Linked DNA regions of Homo sapiens: all the other regions are linked to region 1. The links are contacts of gene promoters, found by promoter capture Hi-C in blood cells and fetal thymus (Javierre and others, 2016). All regions are on one chromosome and are shown on one strand. Each heading gives the region's core, a stretch centred on a gene start or on the middle of the fragment in contact. The rest is flanking DNA. Distances are from core to core; before and after follow the strand shown.

Evidence for each region. The method cuts DNA at HindIII sites, captures the fragments that hold promoters and counts their contacts. A CHiCAGO score of 5 or more calls a contact.
Region 2: a contact is called between a fragment that was not itself captured here and the fragment with the promoter of DCAF16 in region 1, in 6 of 17 cell types (naive CD4 T cells, total CD8 T cells, naive B cells and 3 more). The highest score is 7.6, in naive CD4 T cells.
Region 3: a contact is called between a fragment that was not itself captured here and the fragment with the promoter of DCAF16 in region 1, in 1 of 17 cell types (M1 macrophages). The highest score is 6.9, in M1 macrophages.
Region 4: a contact is called between a fragment that was not itself captured here and the fragment with the promoter of DCAF16 in region 1, in 1 of 17 cell types (endothelial precursors). The highest score is 5.5, in endothelial precursors.

The regions. Positions count from the first base shown.
Region 1 is chr4:17,808,901-17,812,227 of GRCh38, reverse strand. DCAF16 (DDB1 and CUL4 associated factor 16) reads left to right here and starts at 1,471. Exons shown (of 3, transcript NM_017741.4): 1 at 1,471-1,781. NCAPG (non-SMC condensin I complex subunit G) reads right to left here and starts at 1,249. Exons shown (of 21, transcript NM_022346.5): 1 at 1,040-1,249; 2 at 1-7. The coding sequence starts at 1,150. RefSeq lists enhancers at 778-1,290, 1,564-1,723, 1,291-1,802, 1,844-1,933. The HindIII fragment of the contact is 3,530 bases long and covers 213-3,327 here.
Region 2 is chr4:18,609,607-18,612,911 of GRCh38, reverse strand. The region is part of intron 1 of LOC105374510 (a long non-coding RNA gene); the gene reads right to left. Among named protein-coding and RNA genes, the nearest start is that of LCORL, 590 kb to the right of the region's middle. The HindIII fragment of the contact is 8,531 bases long and covers 1-3,305 here.
Region 3 is chr4:18,380,938-18,383,921 of GRCh38, reverse strand. No RefSeq gene overlaps it. Among named protein-coding and RNA genes, the nearest start is that of LCORL, 360 kb to the right of the region's middle. The HindIII fragment of the contact is 2,576 bases long and covers 406-2,981 here.
Region 4 is chr4:18,540,086-18,543,127 of GRCh38, reverse strand. All of the region lies in intron 1 of LOC105374510 (a long non-coding RNA gene), which reads right to left. Among named protein-coding and RNA genes, the nearest start is that of LCORL, 520 kb to the right of the region's middle. The HindIII fragment of the contact is 3,244 bases long and covers 34-3,042 here.

The DNA of each region.
Region 1 (3,327 bases), core at 222-2,721:
CATCCATCTGAAAGACAAAAGAAACCCTTCATAAACTGCACCGATAAAAATCCTTTATTCCCAACATCACCCTAAGACTGATGAAAGCACTAGCCATAATAATGCAGACAAATTAAAATATTTATTTAGTAAACTCTTAATTATCCAAACCAGCCAAAGGGCAATCAATTTGCATGAATTTCTCTCCAGGCTATAATGGGAGTACACAAGCTTGACTTTTGACAGTGAAAAGATTCCTTTGATATATTTTTTTCAATATCTTTGATTCTCAATAAGCCTTTAGTACCAGTACGTTACAAATACGCTTCTTCAACAACCCAAAATCAATACTGGCTTTTATATTTCTCATATTCAGGCCTTCCTATCACCAGCAGTTTCTTTATGAGATAACTTGCACATCCTATCTCATATCCTCAAAGCCCTGTGATGTTTACTCACAATTTTTCTTGGACCTCAAGATAATTCATCTTCCCCAAATTAATTGTTCTATTCTTCTCAAGGTTCCACTCAAAACAAACAAATAGTATGTACATAAATAAGAATGGCCAGGCCCTAAAAATAATTTGGTATTTGGTGATTGGATTCAACGTAACCGTAGGACAAGGGTAGAATCATTTGATGTTCGGCGGGGAGCGATGACCCCAGGGGCAACGACCACTGAACCCCCGCATTCAGGATCCACTCTGCGGTTCAATATTTGATGTCTGATCGCCTCGGTGGTCGTAAATGTTTCTCTCCACGTTCACGATCGGACTAAGGAATAACGGTCCACGCCGCCCAGAAGCTGGGGGTGTCGGCTCAGAAAAGCCAAGGCGGGGCCCGTGTGAACGACGCCCAGGCTTCGGAGGCTTTCTGGCCTGGGCCCAGGCGACCTCGGGTAAGTCCCTGACTTCTCCGAACCTCAGATCCCTATGAAGTGAGTCGCGAAGGTGAACAAGGCTGGAGTCACGGTGCGCCGAGCCCGAGGGCCACGGAGGGCCCCTGAGGGAGGGTGGGCCGGGGCGGGCGAGAGGCGGCGGCCGGGGCCGGGAGCGCTTACCGTGCGGTAGGTGCGGCTCAGCGCCACCACCAGCTTCGCCTGGTTCTGGTGCGGCTGCTGCGCCAGCCGAAAGGCCTCCTTAATCGACAGCAGCCTCCTTTCCGCTCCCATGGCTCTGGAACCCTGCCGGGACGAGTCCTGCCCGCGCTCGGCTACAGCCTGCCAGCCCGCCAACCCAGAGGCAGCGCTCTCCGAGTAGTCTTCTATGACAGCCCCAGGGAGTATTTACCGCTCGAACGTTCAAATAATTCCCGCGAGAGGGGGAAATCCCGCGAGACTGCCGTAAGCGCTTTGGGAGAAGAGAGCGGGAAGCGATGGGTCCACCCACCTCGCACCCCGCGCTTTGGGCGCATGCGTCTAGGTTCAACCTTGTCCAGCCGTTTTCACGGAGGGAAGTGGCGTTTCTAAGGGGGAGGGGCCTTGACTCGGCCGGAAGTAGCGTCGGCGCGGGAGCTGAGCGGAGTGGCCTTGCCACCGGAGGGGAAGGGCTGCTGGCGTTAGGCCTGGCTGGGTCGTGCGGCTGAGCGTGAGGCTAGAAAGAAAAAGCGATCCTCCAAGAGTGAGAACGGGAGATCTGCCGAGGATAACAACCTCCCTTGTGGCCGAAGGGCGGGGGATCCCCACACGAGGGCTCCGCTTCGAGAGACGGCGACAAAGGAAAGTTCGTAGCGCGTTCCGGAGGCCCGGCCACCTCTGAGAAGGGAGACGACGCTGCTGGGTCCGCTGAGCGGGGCGACCCGAGGTTAGTGGAGACGGATGCTGTCTTTTGAAGGCCTTAGTCCCTGCCCTGGTGAAGCCGACTGCGAGGTTCCACAGGGCGTGCAGGCAGTCCGGGGATCGTTGCGAAGGGGGGTGCGGGCTAACTTAGCTGCTGCCGTTTCTAGATGTGCAGCTGTGTAGGCCCTGTTTACAAGTGTGCATAAGGACAGTGTATTAAGGGAGAACTCAAGAGAATGGAAAGGTCTTTCGGGTAGTGGTTAAAATAAAGAAGAGTAGGAACTAGGTTTTTAAATTTTAAATGAAATTATATCAGACAGAACTTCTGTTGGATCTCAGGATGCACCATCCAAAAATAGGACTGTAGGAGACCAAAATATGCCACCCTACAATATACTTCTAGAGTATATTTTGAGCTGGTATTCTGATAAAATGCAGACACAGGAGTCGCTCTGAAAATCTGTCCTGTTGTAAAAGAAATTGACATCTACAGAGGAAATATACATCAGTAAAGGATCTGTATCAGAAAGAGGGCAGCTCTGCGATAATTTTTGTTACCTGGGAGATCTTATCTGCATACCAAGACAACTTTTATTCACCGTATATTTCCTCCCCTCACCTTTCCACAACTTTGTGGCCACCATCCCCCAGAAAGCCGCAAGCCCCCATTTCTTGAGTAGCGTAGGATGCTGTATAATATTCAATCATCTGACCATGGTGGGACTCCTCTGCGTATGTAATTAAGTACGGGTTTTTTTTCTTGTTAATGTCTATGTCAGGTTAATTTGTAACCCAGCCAAAGAACCTAGGAGGATGGAGGGAAGCCGTTTTTCCCTCTCCTACACCTCAGTAACCTACTGCCAGCTGAAGAAATAGAACATTACTAAAGCCACCTGTACATCTTTCTCCTTTTGAATTACCTGCCCTCCGAAGAAGTAATGGATTTTCTGAATTTACTGTTAACTTTTACCATGCAGCTTTCTATATCTTAATGACATATTTTAATATATTAATGACATGAATAAATCCCTGAATGAGGATATTGTACTATTTTGCATGTTTTAACCGTTAAATGAATAATTATATGTGCATCTGGCTTTTTTCAATCAATATTGCTGTGGTTCATATTGATATGTTCATAATAGTAACTTGCACTTAATTAACCTTTATTATGTGCCAGACACCATGCTAAGCACTTTACTTCGTTTACTGCTCACAAACCCTGTAGGATAACTTTGATCTTCTTTTAAGATGAGGAAACTACGGCACAGACAGGTTGCTATAGTACTCCATTGTATTAATATGCCATACCTTATCCATTCTCCTGCTTAATTCCTCAAACTTTGTAGATATTCAGCTGCTAGTTAAGAATGTGGTAACATTTGTGTTGCCCATAATTTTGCTTTGTGACGTTTCTAATATATATTTTTTTATTTTTATTTTGAGACAGAGTCTTGCTCTGTCGCCCAGGCTGGAGTGCAATGGCGCGATCTCGGCTCACTGCAACCTCTGCCTCCCGGGTTGAAGCGATTCTCCCGCCTCAGTCTCCCAAGTAGCTGGGTTACAGGCAT
Region 2 (3,305 bases), core at 149-2,648, 800 kb before region 1:
AGATGATACATGCAAAACATTTAGCATGGTGTTAGGTACACAGAGAGCATGTCATAAATCCCGGGCAGTAGCAGAGCAGAAGTAGAAACAGCAGCAGGGGTGGTAAGAGTGGTCATGGAGGTGATGATAGCAATGGTAGTGTTCCACAGACGTCCTTCCTCCCTTTCTTCCTTCCTCCCTCCCTCCCTCCCTTTCTTCCTTCCTCCCTCCCTCCCTTCCTTCTTTCCTTCCTTCCTCCCTCTCTGCCTTTCTCCTTCCTCCTTTCCTTCCTCCCTCCCTGCCTTTCTCCTTCCTTCCTTCCTCCCCCCTCCTTCCTTCCTCCCCCCTCCTTCCTTCCTCCCTCCCTTCCTTCCTTCCTCCCCCCTCCTTCCTCCCTCCCTCCCTTCCTTCCTTCTTTCCTTCCTTCCTCCCTCCCTGCCTTTCTCCTTCCTTCCTTCCTCCCCCCTCCTTCCTTCCTCCCTCCCTTCCTTCCTTCCTCCCCCCTCCTTCCTTCCTCCCTCCCTTCCTTCCTTTCTCCCCCCTTCCTTCCTCCCTCCTTCCCTTCCTTCCTGCCTTCCTTTCCTTCCTTCCTCCCTCCCTTTCACCTTCCTTCCTTCCTTCCTCCCTTTCTCCTTCCTTCCTCCCTCCCTCCCTTCCTTCCTCCCCCCTCCTTCCTTCCTCCCCCCTCCTTCCTTCCTCCCCCCTCCTTCCTTCCTCCCTCCCTTCCTTCCTTCCTCCCCCCTCCTTCCTTCCTCCCTCCCTTCCTTCCTTTCTCCCCCCTTCCTTCCTCCCTCCTTCCCTTCCTTCCTGCCTTCCTTTCCTTCCTTCCTCCCTCCCTTTCACCTTCCTTCCTTCCTTCCTCCCTTTCTCCTTCCTTCCTCCCTCCCTCCCTTCCTTCCTCCCCCCTCCTTCCTTCCTCCCCCCTCCTTCCTTCCTCCCCCCTCCTTCCTTCCTCCCTCCCTTCCTTCCTTCCTCCCCCCTCCTTCCTTCCTCCCTCCCTTCCTTCCTTTCTCCCCCCTTCCTTCCTCCCTCCTTCCCTTCCTTCCTGCCTTCCTTTCCTTCCTTCCTCACTCCCTTTCACCTTCCTTCCTCCCTCCCTGCCTTTCTCCTTCCTTCCTTCCTCCCCCCTCCTTCCTTCCTCCCCCCTCCTTCCTTCCTCCCCCCTCCTTCCTTCCTCCCTCCCTTCCTTCCTTCCTCCCCCCTCCTTCCTTCCTCCCTCCCTTCCTTCCTTTCTCCCCCCTTCCTTCCTCCCTCCTTCCCTTCCTTCCTGCCTTCCTTTCCTTCCTTCCTCCCTCCCTTTCACCTTCCTTCCTTCCTTCCTCCCTTTCTCCTTCCTTCCTCCCTCCCTCCCTTCCTTCCTTCCCTCCTTGCTTCTTTCCTTCCTCCCTCCTCCATCCATCCCTTCCTCCCTCATTTTCTTCCTCCCTGCCTTCCTTCTAAAATCCTCACATATTTTTGTAATTTATTTTTAAGACTGTTTTTAAGCCATATATGCACTTAACAAATCAACAGTAACAAAACAACATAAACCAATTTTAATAAGGAAGCAAAACTCTTTTGCACACCCCAGTAAACACTACCAAGTCTGGTTACACAGTGGCATTCATTCTTAGCATTGTTTTTGGCTCTTCTGATAATTTTCCTCCTGACATTAAGTGACATGTTCATAACTCTATTTCTTGATTTATCATTTTTAGACCACAAATAATGACTCCACAATATGATGACTTAGCTCTTTTAAACTTCTGCTTTCTCCCTTCTCTTCCTTCTCAAGGTTAACATTCATATACTTTTCCCGTTCTTCAAATGGCCCCCTTTGTAATACTAAGTAATAGACCTATGCCTCCATTTCTGTTCCACTCACTTTCGACTGTATCTCTTGGTTTTCCACAATATGAAATGAAGATTTTTAGCAGCACTTCCTTTATTTAAAAGAAAAGACTCATCAGCTCCTCTGCTTCCATTCTTCCGTTATTTTTTTAGATGCACATTCACTTAACACGGCTACATTTTGTTCTGCCACTGCATTCGTGAATTCTAAGTGTTGTTTGTAAAATAACCCTAAAAGGGGTTGAGTGTGGTGGCTCACGCTGTAATCCCAGCACTTTGGGAGGCCGAGGCGGGTGGATCGCCTGAGATCAGGAGTTCGAGACCAGCCTGACCAACATGGTGAAACCCCGTCTCTACTAAAAATACAAAAATTAGCCAGGCGCGGTCATGGGAACCTCTAATTTCAGCTACTCGGTAGGCTGAGGCAGGAGAATTCTTTGAACCCAAGAGGCGGAGGTTGCAGTGAGCCAAGATCGGGCCATGGCACTCCAACCTGGGCAACAAGAGTGAAGTTCTGTCTCAAAAAAAAAAAAAAAAAAAAGATAATAATATAAAATAAATAAGTAAATAACTGTAAAAGGTGCAAAGCGATAAACAGTGTTTGATAATTATGGCTTGTTAAGGTCATGTTTGCTTTTCTATAGGTTCTATATTGGATTCCTGGAGCTATTACTGAGGGAGATTCTTCCATATTATTTGATGTGTCACTTCATGTATACATGACTTGGACAAACATTTGAGACAAATTAGGAAAAGTCAATATGCAGAGAAGGAGGGAAGTGGGAAGGAAGAGAAGCAAGAATACTCTGTGGATATGAAAATCCCTTCACCGCTGCTACTGCTTCTCACTCTGCGACTACTGCTAGCATTGCAGTCAATGCAGCCTGCTTTCCTATATTCGGTCGACTGCTGAAAATCAGCACGTGTGTTATTTTACTTTCTCTTTTAAATTTATTTTTTAAAATTCTAGTTACCTTTCTTTTATTCTTGTATTATTTGCCTTGATACTATTAATTAAATGTTATTTGCCTCACTTTTTTTCATCAATCTTTTAATCTCACTATCTAGGCTTATTCTACTATTTTTTATTTTTTCCCCTAGAAAATTCCCTCTCTATTGTTATTCTTCAATGCACACCATTTGCTCTCCAGGCCCACTGTAGAGAATCCACCACTTCTCTGCTAGTGTAGGTCCACTGCTTCTTGCATGCCTTCATCTTTCTCTGTTTATTTTCTGTATGTAATACACATGCTTCTTCACCTATGCTAGCTTTATGTCTCAATAAACCCATCATAAGTTGAAAATATCATAAGTTGAAAATGCATTTAATATACTTAACCTATTGAACAGTATAGTTTTGCCCAGTCTATCTTAACCATGCTTGGAACACATACATTTGGGCAAAATCATCTAACACAAAACCTATTTTATAATAAAGTGTTGAATATCTCAACACTGTGTTAAACTGTGTTAAACGGTGTTTACACTGTGTTAAA
Region 3 (2,984 bases), core at 444-2,943, 570 kb before region 1:
ACACCCTACCCTCCCTCCCTCCTCTCCAGTACTCTGCCCCTCAAATTCTAGCTACCTCTTTAACTCTGAACAACAACCTTTGTCTCCTCAACTCAGTAAGGCCACTGATCCTGTTTCAATTTTTCCTTTTAAAGAGTAAACTGAGACAATCATAGGGCTTACCATTTCTATTTCCCTTCTCCTATGCATCACAGTCTTGTATTGCCTATTGTCCAATGCCTGGCAATTATTAGTTCATATACTTTTCTCAGTTACATCTGGTTATGGCATGAGGGAAATTTCTGTAGCAGTTTATCCTTCATGAGGAGAAACAGAAAACTCTAGGAGTTGAGTTCTAAACAGTCAATAAGAAGAAAGGAAAATATATCAAGTGATGTAAGAGTATCAGCCAGCACCTTCCAAGCTTACAACTGGCTGAAACACTGTGACCAAAGGTGGCAGGTAATCATTTACATGATTAGGTAAACACCTTTAGCCCAATATTATTTCAATTTAATACCTTAATATTTAACTCATGCCCTTTTGCCCATGATATAAAAATAAAGTACTATCAAGACTGATAACAATATTTTCTTTTGAATTAACTAATTTTGGGAAGCAGACTTTAGTAGACAATCTAGAGGAATTTTTTAAATTTTAATAAATATAATCTGCATACAGAAAGGTGCACATCACATTTGTACAGCTTAATATATTTCCAAAAACTGACCACACATGTTGCCAGCACCAGGTTGAGAAACAGTACGTTATGTGCATCCCAGAAGCCCCCATTCATTAACCTTTCCCACTTTTTCATCTCCTCCCACAGCAGTATCCATAATCGTGACTTCCAATAATATAGACTAGTTTTTCCTGATTTTGCATTTTCTAAATTCATAAGGATGTATTCTTTTCTCTTTGCTGTGGGTAGTTGCAGATCCAACATCCTCATTGCTGAATAATTTTCCATGGTGAGAATGCAACACAAATTTATTTATTCATTCTACTCTTGGTGGCAATGTAGGTATTATCCAATTGAGAGTTATTACAAATAATGCTGCTATAAACATTCTTGTGTATATCTTTTGATGTACATATATATGCATTTCTGTTGGGCATTTATCTAAGTGTGGAATTACTAGTCCTAAATTATTCACATTTTCAGCTGTAGGAGATATTGCCACCTGATTTTACCAAGATGCTTATTGTATAGGCCACTTTTAAAACCCAGCAGTATGTTTTAAACAGCAGAGGAGCAACTTAAGGCCAGTATCCCTGGGATGTAACAGATCAGTGTCAACAAGTAAAATCAAACTTCTATTTCCAAAGCTCAAGTCCAGGTATTATTTCCTTTAGGTCATTTAAAACCCATGATGAGAATTAGTAATTATATAAGTTAAAAAAAATTTTTTAAATCTAAAACAGTACAGTTTATTAAAGGTTGTTCTATCTTTCTTTGTAGTCACCAAATCGTTTTAATCTAAGTTTTTTTGTGTGTGTGCAAACCTTTTACATATAAAACCTATAAAAGCCGGGGAACTCTGGAGACAGCAATTTTTGGAACCACAGGGCTCTGAAGAACTCAGCTTGAAAACACTGCTATGGTCTATTTTCTTCTGTTTCAAATGAGAGAACTCTGGCCCAAGGAGGAAAAAAGAAATGCCTTCATGAGGGTCACACAGTAAGATAGTGAAAAGGGAAAGGATTAGATTCCAACATCCCCCATCCTCCTGTTCAGCAAACTTGCCTTATCCTGTTCAACTGGATCCTAATTTGGACTCAGCCACTGAGATAATCAGGTTCTTGCCGAATTCAAAACAAGTATAAATAGATTTTCCGAGGCTCATTTCTACTTGACAACCTTCAATTGGCTATTTTCTCTCAAAGTTGCTTAACATACATAGAGCAATGTATTTTCCTACTAAGAAAATGAACCCACTCCACCCGTGAGAAAGAGGAATCACAAAAGCTACAACATGCCACTGCTGGTTCAAAGCAAAACTTGTTTATTAAATACTGAATAAAAATGGTTATGAACAAAATTTATGACCTCCTAACATCTACCAGAAAATAAGCAATGTGTAAATACACTCTCCCAGTGTGTCAATCTGCTGCCAACTAGCAGTAGAAAAAGATTGAACTTCTGAATCTTACTCAAATTTTTTTCAAAGTGTTGAGAAAATGCAGTTTGAATTTCATCCAAACAATTGACTTTAGGTCTGATTTCTGAAGACCTAGAAATCTTGCACATCAAATAACACTTTTAAAATTTTGCAAAGACTCAAATGAAGCTGAATTCAATTTTTCCCTAAAGAACATATGGACTTTCAAAAAGGCAAGGGAGGAGGTGGTTGGCAAAATATGTTTTCAGTTTTAACACTTTTTTTAAAACAAAATAAAATAAAAATCATTGCTGGATTTCCCCAGCCCCATTCCCCAAAATTACCATTTTTCCTGTCATTGACCTATGACTGTTAAAGATATTCTGATTATTTTATATAAAATAATCATTCTTTATGCTAACAGTGCTTGAGCAGTTGCAAGGAGTTGGCAGGCAAGGCAAGTGTCAGTTTTGAACAAACCCATGAAGTCAACAGTTCCTTGTACATCAGCTGAAATAAAGACTATTTCCAGAAACCAATGGGGATAATTCTGGGTTAAACATCGATATTTCAATTCCAAACCTCATTAGACAACATGGATTTAATGAAAAGACAAAAATGGAAGAAGAAAGACAGAAAAAAACAAAGGAAAAGGAAGTGGAAGCAGAGAAGAAATTTTAGAACTATTACATCAAAAATCAGTGCATTATTGAGTAGAATATTGGTTCTTCAGGCTCCAGCATGAGAAAGATTCAGTTTTGTTTTTGAACCAAGTATATTGACGTGTTTTACTGAGCGTATATACACACGGAATTCAAGTGACCCAATCCCTTGGGTCAAGTGAACCAGAATTTCATTTTCCAAAGAGTTTTTAAAATAATTCTGTCTCTGTCATAAGCTTAG
Region 4 (3,042 bases), core at 406-2,905, 730 kb before region 1:
ATTCATGTGACTTGAACCCATGGACAACAAGCTTCCTATCTCTTTTCCCAACTGAATTTACCAAGTCTCAGTACTGTGTCTGGCCTCTTCTGCAGGGACAGAGAAGCCACCAAAGCAAAATAACTTTGGGGGCTGGGCAGGAAGAGAGAGAGATATAAACAGGAGCCACAATATTCTGGTTTAGACACTTGTAGCTCTATGATCTTAGACAAGTTGCTTATTCTCAGCCTTAGTCTCCTCATTCTTAAAGTGAGCATTCCTAGAATCAAATGAAATAATGCATGTAAGGTGCTTTGCACAGTACCTGGCACATAATGAGTATGCCATAAAAAGTAACTTCTGTTATCTGGAGTATTAATATTTTATTCCCACATTCAACCCACAGACCCTTAGGACAAAATCTTTCCCATTCCTTGGGCATTGAGGCCCTAAGGAAAGGGTCAGATGCAGATGACAGCTCCAATTCTGGGGCTGCTCCAGAGAAATGTTATTGAAATCACTTTGTCATGCAAAATTTAAGGAGCATCTACTTCCTAATAATCATAGAATTAGGCAGAAATAAAAGCTAGAATTTGGAATGACATTTTCTATAGAAATGATGATTGCAGTGTAGCAGGGGAGCGGAGGGGAGGGAGGTAGTTGTTTCTCTATCTCAGTTGCTAACATTGTTCATGTAGCAAAGTATCAAGCTCCAAACAGCCAATAAGCAAATAAAATTTGAAGGCCAGGGAGTATCTCATGTTCACAGAATATGACAAAACAAACAGAATTATACATTTCAACATGCCATTAAAACTAATATTGTGGTTCACTTCTTTTTTATCCATATTATAATGGAAGTTTCAAAATCTCTAGGTTATGAAAGTAGTTCCCAAGTCTTTCCGAGCCCTCAGGAAGGGAATAAACTCTTCTTTCAGGTCATTCATCTTTCCTTAAGTCAGTAAACCAGACAGAGGGTCACAGCACAAAATGACCCCCACATACTATTTTTTATGAAACTACTTTTGAATTATTAATGGTTGGTCTGCACCAAAATCTTCAAGACAAAGATAAAACATAAAATACAAAGTCTCTGTCTTCAGAAAAGTCATTAACCTTTGCAAAGATCATATTTAAATACAGTTTTTAACATTTAGCTTCTACTTAACAGCCATGTATTTCCTTTTCCATTGTGGCAAATTTAAATGTATTAGATTATGGTCTCTTTCTGCTATGTTTCATATAAGTAGAAGAGCATAGGTAATGTGAAAATACTGGGATTGCAGTAATCGAAAAACTAACAATTAGCACTGAAAAAATTTATAATGCAGCTACATCTTTCTAAACTTCAAAAGCTATATTTCAGAAGAGTGTATCTACATGTCAAGCTAATGCATTCAGTAGTAAAATCAAGATGGCCAACTTAATAGGTTTGGTAGTTATATGGTAACCTAATCACAAGTCAAACTTCTGGAAATCCTGTTAATTTGTTCATTTATTTACTCATTCATTACAGAAGAATTTACTGAGCACCAACAATGTGCCAATTGTTTGAGAAACAGAGTGATAAAAGCAAAGAAGTCCTCTCCTAATCTAGTAGTTAAACATAATTGTGACTCCAAAAGTGAATTTCAGAATTCTAGTAAACAGAACAACTAGCACTTTTTACCTTGTATGAGTCATTCAATCTACATGTAGATACTATTAGCTCAGATTTTACTGAAATCTATGTTAAGCATAATTGTCTAGTTTTCTAATCCTTAGCACATTTTAGGCAGACAATTAGAAGTTCCCACTATTGTTCAAAAATGTATAACCAATAACAGTACTTGCTACAGTTCATTAAATTCTTGTTTCTTGTTAAGAATGATTATCAGTTTTATGTATTTTAACATGTTTAATCTTCACAGCAATCATATGAGGTTGGTATCATTCTTATATCCATTTTCAGATGACAAAACTATGACACTGAGCGGTTTCAGTAACTTGCTAAGCTCACTCTTCTAGTAAGAAGCAGAGAAGAGACTGGAACACAGAGAATCTGACATTGGAAGCCATGGTTTTGAACACTGCAGCACACTCACTTTCTAATAAAGGATGCTCCCTTGACATACCATTCTTTTCCTGTTTTGACAATTTTTGGTAGATGCATTGGATTACCTTATAAAATTATAGGTTATTTGGGTGGTAATTGTTGTGTCAAGTTTTCCATAAAATGGGAAGCACCCTGAGTTCATACACAAAGACCAAATGGAGCGAAGTCATTGCTTAATGTATTAAAGTAGCCTTTCTTTGTCCTGATAGCAAACTGTAGTTCTTTATAAAAATAACTGGCATAGGAGAAGAAGCAGGGATAAACTTTAGGCCAGACTTTCCTGTTGAAATTATCGTTGGGTGAGAAAAACACCCAACTTATCTTACTCAATGTATTAGGCCGTTCTCGCATTCCTATAAAGAGCTACCTGACACAGCATAATTTATATAGAAAAGATAATTAACTGGTTCACAGTTCCACAGGCTGCACAGGAAGCATGGCTGGGGAGGCCTCAGGAAACTTGCAATCGTGATGGAATGTGAAGGGGAAGCAGATCTGTCCTCCATGGACGGAGCAGGAGGAAGAGAGAGACGGGGAAGGTGCTACACACTTTTGAACAACCAGATCTCATGAGAACTCATTATCAGGAGAACAGCAAGGGGGAGGTTCGCCCTCCATGATCCAATCACCTCCCACCAGGCCCCTCCTCCAACACTGGGGATCACAATTCCACATGAGATTGGGTGGGGTATAAATCCAAACTATAACACTCATCAATAGGAAATTCACTCCCATTCAAATATTATTTTATATTGAGGCAGAACTAAGATAAATCAAATGATTTTGAATGTCTCTGCTCCAGAAAAAGTTGTTAAGAGAAAAAGCACTTGGCTATGCAAACTTTTTTGTGCAGACCTGGGTCATCTGAATCATCAATATTTGTGTGAGGCAACATGGAAACACACTAAACTTAGAGCCAAAAAAAAGTAGATAAGAGCTTTTGCATCACAACTCAATAATTTTCTGAT